5 separate regions of the Homo sapiens genome follow, and regions 1, 3, 4 and 5 are each linked to region 2. The links are contacts of gene promoters, found by promoter capture Hi-C in blood cells and fetal thymus (Javierre and others, 2016). All regions are on one chromosome and are shown on one strand. The core of a region is centred on a gene start or on the middle of the fragment in contact, and the rest is flanking DNA. Distances in the headings are between cores, read along the strand shown. Region 1 overlaps SAP130 (Sin3A associated protein 130). Region 2 holds the start of ERCC3 (ERCC excision repair 3, TFIIH core complex helicase subunit). Region 3 overlaps UGGT1 (UDP-glucose glycoprotein glucosyltransferase 1). Region 4 has its middle 10 kb from the start of SAP130. Region 5 holds the start of WDR33 (WD repeat domain 33).

Region 1 (2,815 bases), core at 159-2,658, 720 kb before region 2:
GTCCGGTTCGTGTTTGGTTTTAGCGTCAAGAACTGCCTTCCGGGGGTAGGCAGTGCTGCTCTGTGGTTTCTCTGAGGAGAGCAGATGTGCATCTCTTGGGATAGGTTACCTCAAGCAGCTCTCTAGTTCCAAACTTTTTTTTTTTTTTTTTTGAGACAGAATCTCACGGTGTCACCCAAGCTGGAGTGTAGTGGTGCAGTCTTGGCTCACAGCAACGTCCACGTCCCGTGTTCGAGCCATTCTCTTGCCTCAGCCTCCCGAGTAGCTAGGATTACAAGCGGGCACCACCACCCCCAGCTAATTTTTTTATTTTAATAGAGACGGGGTTTCACCATGTTGGCCAGGCTGGTCTCCAACTCCTGACCTCAAATGATCTGCCCGCCTCGGCCTCCCAAAGTGCTGGGATTACAGGCATGAGCCACCGCACCCAGCCTTAGTTGCGAACATTTATTCTGAAGTCTTCTGTTTTAAGGTTTTTTTGTGAAATTTTGCAATCCTACTCTGCTGTGTACCTGATTAATTAAATATTTTACATTTTTTACCTGGGGAAAAAAACTAAATCTAAAAACTTTCCCTTCACATTTTCAAGAAAAATTTATATCCCAAAGAGGTGTACTGTGTTTTTTCCTTTTGTCATACTGCTGAGTACTCTCAGAAGTACCAGAACCCTTAGCTGAGAAGCCCTGAACTCTGTGGTTTGGGAGAATGTAAGGGACATTTCAGGGTTGAGCTGAAGAACTGGTAGGGAGCACCTGTTGGATACCAACTGACATTTACTTAGAAACAAAAAAGCTTAAAGAATGGATGGATGCAGTGGTATGTAAAGGAAATAGTGAGAATGGGAAAAAAAATAAGCATTTGGCCAGAACAGGGAAAACAAGTGTGAAAGGTAATATCGCAGATGAGAGTTTCTAAACGTAGATATCGAAGTATATTATCTGTAATTATGTGGGCCTGCAGCAGTTGTGGGGTCCTCATACTTCTCACATGCCTGTTAGCACAGTTCATTGTACGGTATGGCATGTAAAAGTAGCTCAAGCTGAATGTCCTTAGCCCTTTCTCTTGGGATACTCACTATCTAAAAAACAACCTGACCCACATTTGGAGGCAGGTGACTTCCTAGAGGCAATGGCTAAGAGCAAACATGTAAAAATAACGTTCTATCCTCTTTCTTTCAGGGCCATCCCAGTAACCTGCATCACATCATGACTACAAATGTGCAAATGTCTATCATCCGCAGCAATGCTCCTGGGCCCCCTCTTCACATTGGAGCTTCTCATTTACCTCGAGGTAACGACTTGCAAGTTTTGTTCAAACTCTCAAAATGTAGTAGTAGATATACATTTGGTAAAATACGTAACACAGAATGTATCTAGAATCAGCTTGTTAAAGTTGCAGAACAACAGTCTGCAGAACCGTGAACCAAATAAACCTCTTTTATTTAAAAAGAAAAAAAGGCCAGGTGCTGCGGTTCATGTCTATAAACCCAACACTTTGGGAGGCTGAGGTGGTAGGTTCACTTGAGTCCAGGAATTTGAGACCAGCCTGGGCAACATGGCGAAACCCTGTCTCTACAAAAATACAAAAAATTAGCCAGGTGTGGTGGCATGCGTCTGTAGTCCCATCTACTCAGGAGGCTGAGATGGGAGGATGGCACTCAGGAGGCTGAGATGGGAGGATGGCACTCAGGAGGCTGAGATAGGAGGATGGCACTCAGGAGGCTGAGATGGGAGGATGGCACTCAGGAGGCTGAGATGGGAGGATGGCTTGAGCTCGGGAGGCAGAGGTTGAAATGAGTTGAGATTGCGCCGCTGCACTCCAGCCTGGGTGACAGAGCGAGAACCTGTCTCAAGAAAAAGAAAAAAAATCGCAAGACAGTAGAAATAAACTTAGAGCAATCCATGTTTTTAGCATGGTTTAATATGTGCTTATTATAGTTGTATTACAAGTGTGTATATTTATGCAATTAAAGTGTTTAATATGGTCTAAAATTGTCCTATATATTGAGGAACTGCCCAAGCTTTGATAATCTCAACATGGTCTTTATTATTAGACTGCTTATCTGCAACATGGTCTTTATTTTTAATACATAAGTCACAAATATTAATACTGAATATTTTTAAAGTTCAGTGATGATCTTTACTCAGTTTTTTAACTTATGTAACAATAAAATGATGATGATAATTATTTTTTGAGATGGGGCCTCACTGGGTTACCCAGGCTGGTTTCAGATTTCTGGGGCACAAGCGATCTTCCCACTTTAGCCTCCTGAGTGGCTGGGACTACAGGTGTGAGCCACCACATGGCTAAGATTAATTTATTTTTACCCTTAAGTTCTAATAGGTTGTGAGGTAATAAATGAATTTTGACTAGAAATTTTTACCTTTTATTGGAGACTTTACAACAATTGGAGATTGTTGGCAAAATCAAGTTAGCAAACGCAAGACCAGGTTTGCTTGGTTATAGCATAACTCAGCAGTTCTCCAAATGTGGTTCACAGGCCCTTATGGGGGTCTGCAGGGTGAAAAGTGCAGGGTTAGGTTTAAGGTTAAGGTTCATAATGTGTCCCTTTGGCAATGTCGACGTCTGCTCTAATGGAACAAAGACTGGAAGGCAAAGTGTCCGAGCCTCGTCAGAGCTGAGGCAGTGGCATCACACTGCTGTTCCCTGTGTGCTTTACCACTGTGCACACTTGCAGTTAACAGAAACAAAAAACAGCAGCTAGTTTCACTTAAGGTTGTCTGTGAAGAGGCAATATAAATTATTATTAAATCTCTTGAATACACATTTTCTTTGTTTTCTCTGTGATGAAATG
Region 2 (2,740 bases), core at 126-2,625:
AAATTTCCTCAGCAAAATGTCCAAGCTTATCACTTATAAGTTCTACTTTCCACCCAACAGAATACAATTCAGGCAAGCTCTCTACCACTTGCCTCCAGTTTCAATAACATATTTCTCCTTTCCATCTGAGCCGTCACCAGAATCACCTTTAATGCCCATACTTCTACCAAGGCTCTTCAAGACAATAGAGGCTTTTCTATCATGCGCCTCAAAATTCTTTCAGCCTCTACCGATTACCCAATTTGAAAACCACTTCCCCATTGTTAGGTATTTGTTACAGCAGTACCCTATTCCCCGTACCAAAAATCTGTGTTACGTTCTCCAGAGAAACAGAACCAAGAGGCCCACTGAGCAAGCGAGATTGATTGATTGATTTTAAAGAATTGGCTCATGCAATTGTGGGGGTTGGCAAGTTGGGAATTCAGGTACGAGTTGATGTTGTAGTTTTGAGTCCAAAGGCTGGAAACTCAGTCAGAACTTTCTGTGTTGCAGTCTGGAGGCAGAATTCCTTTTTCCTTGAGAAACCTGTCTTTGCTCTTAAGGCCTTCAACTGATTTGGATGAGGCCCACCCGCATTATTGAGGGTAATCTGCTTTATTTAGGCTGAGACATGAGAATGGCATGAACCCGGGAGGCGGAGCTTGCAGTGAGCTGAAATCGCGCCACTGCATTCCAGCCTGGGCGACAGGGCGAGACTCCGTCTCAAAAAAAAAAAAAAAAAAAAGAAAAAAATTTTTTTTGAGACGAACTCTCGGCCTGTCGCCCAGGCTGTAGTGCAGTGGTGCAATCTCAGCTCAGTGCAGCCTTTACCTTCTGGGTTCAAGAGATTCTCCCATCTCAGCCTCCCAAGTAGCTTAGACTACAGGCGTGTGCCACCATGCCTGGCTACTTTTTTTTGTATTTTTCGCAGAGATGGGGTTTCACCATGTTGGCCAGGCTGGCCTCGAACTCCTGACCTCAAGTGATCCACCCACCTCAGCCTCCCAAAGTGCTGGAATTACAGGCGTGAGCCACCGTGCTCAGCCAAATTTTTTTTAATTAAAAAAAAGAATTCTTCCTTACCCATGGACTCAGGTCACATTCTCTCTCTCTCTCTCTCACACACACATTTATTGCCCACATGGCTTCATTAAAATTTAAGTTCCAGAAGGATGAGGCCTTTAATTCGCGCACTACACAGGTGCTCAACACACAGTATTTTCCTTCAGTTGTAGAGAAATGAACAGTGGAGGACCCCCGCCGCTGGGTCGCACGAGCTAACAGATCGGCGGTCGCTGGCTCTCCGCTCTTCCAGCCACCCACATCACGGCGCCTAGAGGCGGGACATCCTGTGTGGACAACAGGGAGCTTCCGGATTGAGCCGGAAGTCCCCCCAGAGCGGATGCCGCGGCGGGCCTGTGGGAGCGGGGTCATCTTCTCTCTGCTGCTGTAGCTGCCATGGGCAAAAGAGACCGAGCGGACCGCGGTGAGACGTTGCGCGGGCACGCTCAGCCACGACTGCCCTTGCCGGCCCTGCCCCCCGCTCTGCCTCGGAGCTGCTCCGGGCCTCTGCGCCGGCCGACCCTGCTGGCCCTCCCGCGCGCACCCCGTTGGGACAGGCCTTTGGGCGGGAGAGATGCTGGACCTGGGCGCAGCCCAGCGAACTCGGCCTAGGGGAGACGGGTGAGGGGCGCAACGCCTGCGGGATGCAGGTGGCTCTTAGCTAGGAGTTTGCGGCGGCGCAGGTGAAATGCTGCCAAGCGGTGCGGAGGGAACCCTGAAGGCTCCTGCTGGGCTTACTTCTGTGTTGGTATCTTGCAGACAAGAAGAAATCCAGGAAGCGGCACTATGAGGATGAAGAGGATGATGAAGAGGACGCCCCGGGGAACGACCCTCAGGAAGCGGTTCCCTCGGCGGCGGGGAAGCAGGTGGATGAGTCAGGCACCAAAGTGGATGAATATGGAGCCAAGGACTACAGGCTGCAAATGCCGCTGAAGGACGACCACACCTCCAGGCCCCTCTGGGTGGTAAGCATGCCCTTAGCTTGGGCAGGGCCCAGGAGTGTGCGGAGCGGCAGCTAAATCTTGGGCATCCTCAGAGTCAAAACTGACATTCAGGATACTGCCCCTAGAACTGGCCGGGAGAGAATTTTCATCCACACACGTTGGAACAGCCCAAGGCAACAGCGAGCAGTTGCGCACACGTGTGGCGGCCGGACCTGGGCTTCCAACAGCTCTAACCCCTCGGTTTACTCTCACTCCTTCCCCAGCCCTACCCCATGTAGTGAATCCTTTTATCTGCCGAATAAATAGCATTTATCATGTAACAGTTTGTTTCCTCAAATAATGGAAGACATGTTCGGTAGCAAGCTTTTGCTCTACTTTAAATAATTAATGTTATACATTTAGTTGAAATCTAGCCAAAAGGTAACTTGAGGATAGCCAGTAAGATGGGCTTTCTCTGTGCAGAATAGTAGGAAACAGCTGTTGACTTTGGAAACACTTTCTTCTATTTTTCTTTACTCTTCTGTATCTGATTAATGTAACAGGCCCCACAGTTGTCTGAAGGAGTGCTTGCAAGAATATCTGTGGTGTTGGGCAGCTTATTCTTTCTTGATAATGATATGGGCAAGAGCCCAGTAGTCTCTGCAACTCATGTTTCCTTGTCTGTTTTGTCCATTTGGTATCTCTCAGGCTCCCGATGGCCATATCTTCTTGGAAGCCTTCTCTCCAGTTTACAAATATGCCCAAGACTTCTTGGT
Region 3 (2,700 bases), core at 21-2,520, 810 kb before region 2:
GATGGGTACAGAGAGAGTACATTATACCATTCTCTCCATATATAAATGTTTTGAAATGCCATAATCCAGGACAAGTTTTTAATCTACAACACAAAAAAAACTACAAACAACCAGAATGAATGCCCACAAGATAGTACAAATCAGGTGACAACTTGTTTTCTTAGATTTCCAAAGCTATTGCGGGAGATCAGCATTGGTCTTCCTTCTATGTGGAACTAGGAGGGAAGAAACTAATATTTAAGGAGGCTCTACGATGTTACAGTCACTAAGCTTGGCATATTTACTCGTGTCCGCAAACCCACACAGCCACCCTCAGATATAACCGTTTTTCAAATAAAGAAGCTGCCATTCAGAGATGCTACTGACTTTCTTAGGGACATAGAGTTAGTCAATGGAAAAGCTGGAATATAAATTCATGTCTATTTAATTTATACCTCTAACATGCTACATTCTTGGGTCATTACAAAATTTAGCACTCAGTAAATGATTATTGGTTTTGATTTTAATAATACCTCCTTATATAATATTTCTGTAGCTACAGCTGCAGAAAACATATTTAGTGTTTTACTTCAATTAAAGATAAATATCACTTCATAGACAATCACAAAGCTACAACTCCTTCACAAACATCAGGTCCAATCTAAAAATACACAACAGGAATATTTTTAGTCCCTAAGGGATAGATGCAAGGAAGGCAAAAGATCTGTGGTGGTGGCATGCCATAAAGTGTAGTAAAATATTTTGACCCTTCATCCTTAACCAGATGGACATAGTACCTTGATCCAACATCAGGGTCTCCCACAGACATAAGAAGGAAGAATGGTGGGCTCTGCTAGCTCTGGAGGTGAATACTAAGTGGATTCTAATAAGCATAGCTCATTTCTATGAGTTGCCTACATGTCGTATTACCTTGGGAAACTGTATACAAATAGCCACAGGAGAAGGGGCCTAAAAATAGTAAACCAAAAGGGCAAATGTAGCTCTTACTTCACATGCCAAGGAAAAAAATTAATAAAAATAAAACAAAATGGCAAATGACCAGGGATATCATGAAAGGGGGAGATGTCTGTGATAAGGAAGTTGGTGAAGAAAACAGTATACCCTGTCCACTTCACAGTGATCAAAGAAACTGAAAATATTGAGCAATTAGGGCTGGCAATTTTAGCATTCTTTCTCAAAAGTCCATAGTTTTATGCTGTAAGAATCTTCTAGGACAATGATCAAGAATGTACAACTATCAAGAAATTAGTGTAAATAAAAGTGAAAGTAACAAAATGTAATTCAGGGTAAGAATGTTAAACAGAGGCCTGGCGCGGTGGCTCACACCTGTAATCCCAGCACTTTGGGAGGCCGAGATGGGTGGATCACCTGAGGTGGGGAGTTCCAGACCAGCCTGACCAACATAGAGAAACTCCATCGCTACTAAAAAAAAAAAAAAAAAAAAATACAAAATTAGCCGGACTTGGTGGTGCATGCCTGTAATCCCAGCTACTCAGGAGGCTGAGGCAAGAGAATCGCTTGAACCTGGGAGGCAGAGGTTGCGGTGAGCCGAGATCACGCCATTGCACTCCAGCCTGGGCAACAAGAGCGAAACTCCATCTCAAAAAAAGAATGTTAAACAGAATATCACAAAAACACCTGTTACAGTTAATTGTACAAAATGATTCAGAAAGTGATAGTAAATCTTGGCCAGGCCCGGTGGCTCACGCCTGTAATCCCAGCACTTTGGGAGGCCAAGGAGGGCAGATCACCTGAGGTCAGGAGTTCAGACCAGCCTGGCGGCCAACATGGTAAAACCCCATCTCTACTGAAAATATAAAAATTAGCCAGGCATGCTGGCACACGCCGGTAATCCCAGCTACTTGGGAGGCTAAGGCAGGAGAATGAGAATGGGCTTGAACCTGGGAGGCAGAGGTTGCAGTGAGCCAAGATGGCGCCACTGAACTCCAGTCTGGGTGACAAAATGAAACTCTGTCTCAAAAAAAATAAGTAGGGTGGGGGGGGGGGTTGTAAATCTCAATGACAGATTTTATACCAAACAAATCATCCAAAATAAGATTAGCAAAAAGGAAAAGAAAAACTTTAGTTTTTAGAGTCCAGCTCAGGCAGTCCAGCTCAGGCAGTCTCAAAATATCTTCAGTCACTGCTTTTTTGTTTGTTATTTGCTTTGTTGGGCTTTTTTCCCCCATAATAAGAACTCTTAAAAAAGAGCCACTTCACTTTTACAACTATGCTGTATCAAATAAAGTTCTGACATTTGACAAGCTTGACCCATTTATCAAGTTAGTTATCACCATGAAATACATACAATGGTTTTGTCTTTGTTTTGCCACTTCTATGCTGAGAAAGAAAGGCAGAGAGAGGCGATGGAAGGAAGTCTATTTAGCAGAAAGTCTGCTAGGCTCCTGAGCTAGCCAAGACCGGCTGCCACATGCCCCCTCCCACTGGTCCTTTTAGCAGTATCAAATGAGGCTTTTTCCTTAAGAGGTGCAACCATTCGTTCACACAATCAACATGGCAAAATTCTTCATCCACATTTTTCTAGGAATTAAGGGGAAAATGTTAGAATACAAAATTCTAGAGGCCAGGCATGGTGGCTCACACCTGTAATTCCACCACTTTGGGAGGCCAAGGCAGGTAGATCACTTGAGCTCAGGAGTTCCAGACCAGCCTGGCCAAGATGGTGAAAGCCCATCTCTA
Region 4 (2,700 bases), core at 141-2,640, 740 kb before region 2:
GGGAGTGTGCTGACGGTCCTAGTAGGCCCTGACTGCAGCCAGCCACACCTTTGCAGGGACTCTGGTTGCCGTAAACACACAGCTGGGCTGAAGTGGGCAATGCCGGGCGCAAGAGCCCTCCAGAGTGGTCCCTCAGCCAACCTGTCCCAGCCGCCCAGCTTGCAGCCGAACTTGCCTTTCTTCCTCTTTCCTTGCCAGCTTCACAGTCATGCCGGGATGGGGTAAAAGGACAAGCTTTTATCTACTTTAAACAGTCATGCCACACTGCCAACACAGTTTTCAAAGCATTATAGCCTTCAAAGAGATCCTTTCTTCCTTTTCTAATTTTAAGTTCGAAGGCTTCGCTTTTTGGTGCTCTTTATATGGCTTGGAAAGTGGGGGCCTAGGCTCTTTATAGGTTCTCGCCCCCTGAGTACTGTGTGGTACGGTTGACAGCAGAAGTTTTGCCTTCTGCTTTGTCTGTTGTTTCTTTTCGTCCCTTCTTACGTACACTTTTGAGTCTCCCTAAGAAGTTTACTCATGGGACGGTTTTTCCAATTTTCTATCTTTTGTAATTTCTTTGAAATATCTGTCCAACTGTTAGTAAGAAAATGAAGTTTTAACATTCCCTGCCCAAGAGGATCCTCGAGATCTAGACCTGCATACTTTCTCATTTGTTCTTTTAATCTGTCTAAAAATTCTATAGGCCCTTTATCTTTCCCTTGCTGAATATGAAATGCCTGGGTAAGATTCTAGGTTCAGGGTACTGATTTTTAATTCCTTTTATTATCATTTCCCTAAGGTCTTGCATATTTTCTTGGTGGGCTGCATTGTTATTGTCCAACCAGGGGTCTTGGGAGGGGAATTTTTGATCTGCTGCAGGAACGTTTTGGCCAGGAGGGTGTTCACGTTCCCAGACTACCATAGCAGCTCTACGAATGATGCTTCTTTCTTCTCCTGAGAAGAAGTTGCCTAGGATGGACATTAGCTCAGCCTAAGTATGTAACTGTGGTCCTAGAAAGTGGTCAATTTGGTTTGCTACCCCGTAAGGGTTGTCTAATAGTGGCTTAAGCTCTCTTTTTAGGTTTTGTACTTCTGAGCTGGTTAAAGGAGCATTTACAAAGCCAATGCCTCCTCCTCCTAGGGGCACCTCCCTCAAGGGGAAGAGAGCTGGAGCTGATTCCCCTAAGGCAGAGGGGAAGGGAAAGTTTGGGGAAGTTTTGAATATCTTTTTTACATTTCTCTATTTCACGTTGAAGTCCCTTTAGGGAAGGGTACTTAGGCTGGTAGTGATTGGGCTCTTGGGATGATTCCCAAGAGGCAGGGTTATAAGGAGGGGGAACAACGGGGGTAGGAGAAGGGTCTGGGACAGCAGCTGCTTGAGGGGGAGGAAAGTTAGGAGTGTTTGGTGGGGGAAGGTGATTTAGCAGGTCCGAGGTGTAGATTGCTTGGGGTTAAGAGTTTCAGTTTCCTTAGGGGAAACATTCTCTGGCTTACGCTTATCTTTTAGAGTTTTGGGGGGTAGAGAAGAACAGGTCCTTGTCACCAAAACAAGGCATAATCTATCTCTTCTTGGGAAACAAGACTCTTGATATTAACATGTTCTATTAGAAGCTGACAAATCCAGTACTCATTTGACCCAAATTTTGTCCACAAAACTGAGGGTTTGAGGATTGGTTCCTGGGTCCAAATAAAACTATTTTATCATTCGTTGCTTTATCTTATGCTTAGTCCTTTATTATCTTTCAAATACTTTAACATGAGACCTAAGGGACTATCAAGGGGAATATCATTGCTGTTAGGTTTATCCTTTTTACTTCCTGTCTTACTTGGGGTATTTCCAATCTTGATGGTTTTGGGGTGAACCTTAACTTCCCCTACTGGAAATTTTTTTGCCTTCCCTAATACTAGAGGTTTGTGTGAGGCTCAGTGCCCCCTACTGGAGATTTCTCACCTTTCCTTTCTTCTAGAGGCTCAATGCCTCGTATTAGGGATTTCTTGCCTTCCTTTTCTCTAGAGGCTCAACCCTCCCTGGTGGGGGCTTCTTGCACTCTTTTCCTTTCATTTCATCCTCTCTGGCCACTTCCCCAAAGGGAACATCGGGTCCCTCTTAACGTTGGCGAATCAGTATAAACCCCTGATGGGACCCTCGAAAGGCCGCCATATGAGGTGACCATGGAACCACAGATTGAACTCAACTCACTCTGCACGCTAGTAGTGCTTATTCACACACTTACAGCTTTCAACCTCCAAGATCTCCCAACAATCAAGGAAATACGTTGTCAACCCAGTAATGTTTCTTACCTTGGTCTGTGCACAGAGTTACCTGGTTGCCATGGTATATGATGATCTTTTTCTTTTTTTTTCCCAAGTTGTTGGTCTGTTTTTTCCTGCATTGCTGAGAGTCCAGGTTTATTCGTCACACCAGGTGGGTCTTGATTCCTTACCCCTGAGTCCACTGCAATGAGGCAGCAGGGCACACCTCCTCACAGGAGAGGACTGGACCCTTCCCCAGAGGAGAATGGGAATCCTGGACGAACCCCCAAATTTGTTAGAAACAAGCTTCAGTGCTGCAAAAGAAATAGCACTCAAACAGAAATTTTCTCAGCAAGGCAAATTTACTTCCGCAGAAGTGTGCAGCTTGCGCCAGTCACGATTGCAAGAGCACACTGAGCAGGGTGGGGCAGGGGTTTTTATCCCTAATGCAATTGGTTCCTACTG
Region 5 (2,700 bases), core at 102-2,601, 520 kb before region 2:
GACCTTGTCTCTAAAAAAAGAAAAAATATAGAAGTTTATAAACATTTCTGATGTTATCATAAAAACTTTAGATACTGTGTAATGTCTGCATGATAGTCTACGTATGGATGTGCCATTATTTAATCACTGTCTGCTACTGTTTCCTTTTTTTTTTGCTATCATTAATACCTCAAAGATTAGTACACAAATCTTACTCACATCTCTGAGGCTATCCTTAGAATAGATTTTTGGAAGGGGATTATGGAGTCAAAAGTAAGACTTCTTTGAGACAGGGTCTTACTCTGCTTCCAAGACTTAAGTGCACTGGCACGATCTTGGCTCACTGCGCCCTCCAACTCCTGGGCTCAAGTGATCCTCCCACCCCAGTCTCCCAAGTACCCATCACAGGAACGATCACAGGAAGGCGGTCACAGGAACGCACCCCGACGCGCAAAGATGGGATCTCGCCATGTTCCCCAGGCTGGTACGATTCCTGATTCATACTGGAGAACAACTTGCTGTGCAGTTATATTTTGAACCTCATCAAAATGGAATCATACAGCGTCCTCTTCTTTGTGCCTAAGTTAACAGTAGCTGCTATTCGTTCAGGCTGTTGCGTTTATCCGTAACTTCCTATTTCTCTGTAGAAATCCACTGTATGATACACCACAATTTAGCCACTCAACTGCTGATGGACATTTAGGTTACCAGTTTTTTACTACTACGAATAAACGTGCTATGGACATTCTTGCACATGCCTTTGGTGGACGTATGCACTCATTCCTCTTGAAGTGAAATTTCTGGGGTCACAAGGTAAGCGTACATTTAGCTTTGGCAGAAACTGCAGCGGTTTTCCAAAATGGTTGCATCGTGGGGCTGTTTTTCTATCTTGGTCGCTGGACTTTAAGCGAGGCGTAATCTAGAGGCACAACTGGCTCGGGTAAGGCGTGGAGCCTGACTGTGTGCCGGGATCTGCCAGGGCTGCCACCAGCTAGCTGCACGGGTGAACAGACTCAGCAAGGTGCCACAGTGGCTTCCCACAGATCCACTCTCGGTGGGCTCGGTCCAACGACCCGCTATGTCTGCCGTACTGGCCCCGTACAAATATACTCATTCACATACTGGAAAACGGGGTGTTTTTCAGAGCATACACGTTAGCTCACACTGTAAAAAAAAGTCAGCACTGCGAAACGCAGTCGCTTCTTTCCTCCAGGAGGTAGCGCGTCCTACTCGCTCCGGAACAAAGGAAGCGCTCTGCAGGGTCTCGCGGCTCGGCACCTCACCTAGGCACATGCGCAGATCGAACCTCACAGAGGCCCGCGGTCCAGGCGCGCGTGACGTAGCGCCGTCCCGCCAGTGCGTGATGACCCCAGAGCGTGCGTTCGGTGGCCCATAGGGGAAGATGGCGGCTGCTCCTTTGGAGGAGCGGGATTGAGAGGATCGGGGTGGGGAGACCAAACAAGAGAGACATTTCTGGCTCTGAAGGCGAACGCTTCGCTGGCCATTTAGGAGCTCTGCTCAAAGCCAGACGGTGAGTGCGGCGGCGACACGGGACTGCTCGCCTGCAGCAGGCAGCGGCACTCTCCGCCATTTTCGGGCTCGGCCGTTGCGTGCTTTGGGGGCCTGGACGGGCGCCTGGGCACAGGTTGGAGGAACTGGGAGAATCGACCTCGGGGCGGCTGTTCGAGGCAGGTTCGAGACTTATGGGAGGGGGCTGGAGGCTGGAGGCCAACCGGGAAAAGCGGCCATGGTTAGAACTAAGGCCCTGACTGGGAGCGGTGGCGACGAGAAGACGTAAGTCAGGCCACAGTTAAGACGTGAAGTTTGGAGGGAAATGCATTTTAACTGAGGTTTGGGGCGGGAGTGGAAAGAAGTGGGCCGAGTTGAAGTAGTTGGTTGAAAGGGTCAAGGGAAGTTAACGTGAAATCTGCAAAACAGCTGAAGACTTAGCCGTGATGTTATCGTGGCTTGAAATCGGTGCTTATTATAAGGATGAGGCTACAGCTTGACAGGCAAAGCCCTGCTTTTTTGGAATAGTTGTATTTCTATTTGGTTTGTGCTAGATCCCTGTTTCTGATTTTAAGTTGTCTTCTGGCAACTAAGTAGTGAGGATCTTAGCATGCCTTCTTAAAAGAAATGACAATGAATGTTTGTACTTGGTTGTAACCCTTGGGATTAGTGGCCCCTTCCGGAGTAAGGAGGAGGCGGCGGCGGCAGGTCGGTAGGGAATTCCGTAATTGGATCTATTTAAATCAAATCAGAAAAATACGGGCTACTTGTAGAAAGCCTGTCAAGAATGTTTTAAAGTAGTTTCTACACACATGATCTTAAGTTGACTGTTCAGGAACTTTGGAAGACATTAGAATATGAACAAAAAGCCTGCACTGAAAGGAACAACTCTGGGGAGCGTAGACTTTACTTTTTTAGTACACTCTGGAGAGCTAATGCATGCTATATATACATATATATGTGTATATATGTGTGTGTGTATGTATATATAGCCTGTGAATATGGTGCAGTGGTAAACCTACTTAATTCAAACCTTTTAGTGACAGTTATGCTAGTTGTACCTCTTGTGGCATTTTTCATTTCCTCGCCTTAATTGCATTTTACCCATTTTTTATTACTGTAAGATACTTTTGCTTTTTTTGTCTCCTTGACCGGGAGAAGATAAAATATTGTATAGATTTGAGTTTTTGCTGAGACTTGAAGTTCCATATT

The links. Contacts are between HindIII fragments. The CHiCAGO score rates a contact against its expected background, and 5 or more counts as called.
Region 1: a fragment that was not itself captured here is called in contact with the fragment with the promoter of ERCC3 in region 2 in 1 of 17 cell types (total CD8 T cells); the score reaches 5.1 in total CD8 T cells.
Region 3: a fragment that was not itself captured here is called in contact with the fragment with the promoter of ERCC3 in region 2 in 2 of 17 cell types (total CD8 T cells and activated CD4 T cells); the score reaches 5.9 in total CD8 T cells.
Region 4: a contact is called between a fragment that was not itself captured here and the fragment with the promoter of ERCC3 in region 2, in 1 of 17 cell types (naive B cells). The highest score is 5.8, in naive B cells.
Region 5: the fragment with the promoter of WDR33 here is called in contact with the fragment with the promoter of ERCC3 in region 2 in 6 of 17 cell types (non-activated CD4 T cells, naive CD4 T cells, activated CD4 T cells and 3 more); the score reaches 8.9 in non-activated CD4 T cells.

Annotation. Positions count from the first base shown.
Region 1 is chr2:128,013,278-128,016,092 of GRCh38, reverse strand. It overlaps SAP130 (Sin3A associated protein 130), which reads left to right. Exons shown (of 21, transcript NM_001330301.2): 5 at 1,179-1,290. Among named protein-coding and RNA genes, the nearest start is that of SAP130, 13 kb to the left of the region's middle. The HindIII fragment of the contact is 1,228 bases long and covers 795-2,022 here.
Region 2 is chr2:127,292,779-127,295,518 of GRCh38, reverse strand. It overlaps ERCC3 (ERCC excision repair 3, TFIIH core complex helicase subunit), which reads left to right and starts at 1,375. Exons shown (of 15, transcript NM_000122.2): 1 at 1,375-1,465; 2 at 1,801-2,006; 3 at 2,673-2,740. The coding sequence starts at 1,438. The HindIII fragment of the contact is 2,323 bases long and covers 28-2,350 here.
Region 3 is chr2:128,099,326-128,102,025 of GRCh38, reverse strand. The region is part of intron 2 of UGGT1 (UDP-glucose glycoprotein glucosyltransferase 1); the gene reads right to left. Among named protein-coding and RNA genes, the nearest start is that of UGGT1, 9.5 kb to the right of the region's middle. The HindIII fragment of the contact is 1,995 bases long and covers 273-2,267 here.
Region 4 is chr2:128,037,087-128,039,786 of GRCh38, reverse strand. No RefSeq gene overlaps it. Among named protein-coding and RNA genes, the nearest start is that of SAP130, 10 kb to the right of the region's middle. The HindIII fragment of the contact is 2,307 bases long and covers 237-2,543 here.
Region 5 is chr2:127,809,822-127,812,521 of GRCh38, reverse strand. WDR33 (WD repeat domain 33) reads left to right here and starts at 1,351. Exons shown (of 22, transcript NM_018383.5): 1 at 1,351-1,510. It overlaps LOC124907885 (a long non-coding RNA gene), which reads right to left and starts at 1,271. Exons shown (of 2, transcript XR_007087230.1): 1 at 379-1,271; 2 at 1-10. RefSeq lists enhancers at 1,050-1,119, 1,390-1,679, 1,700-1,779, 1,860-1,939, 1,346-2,286 and 1 more. The HindIII fragment of the contact is 7,008 bases long and covers 1-2,700 here.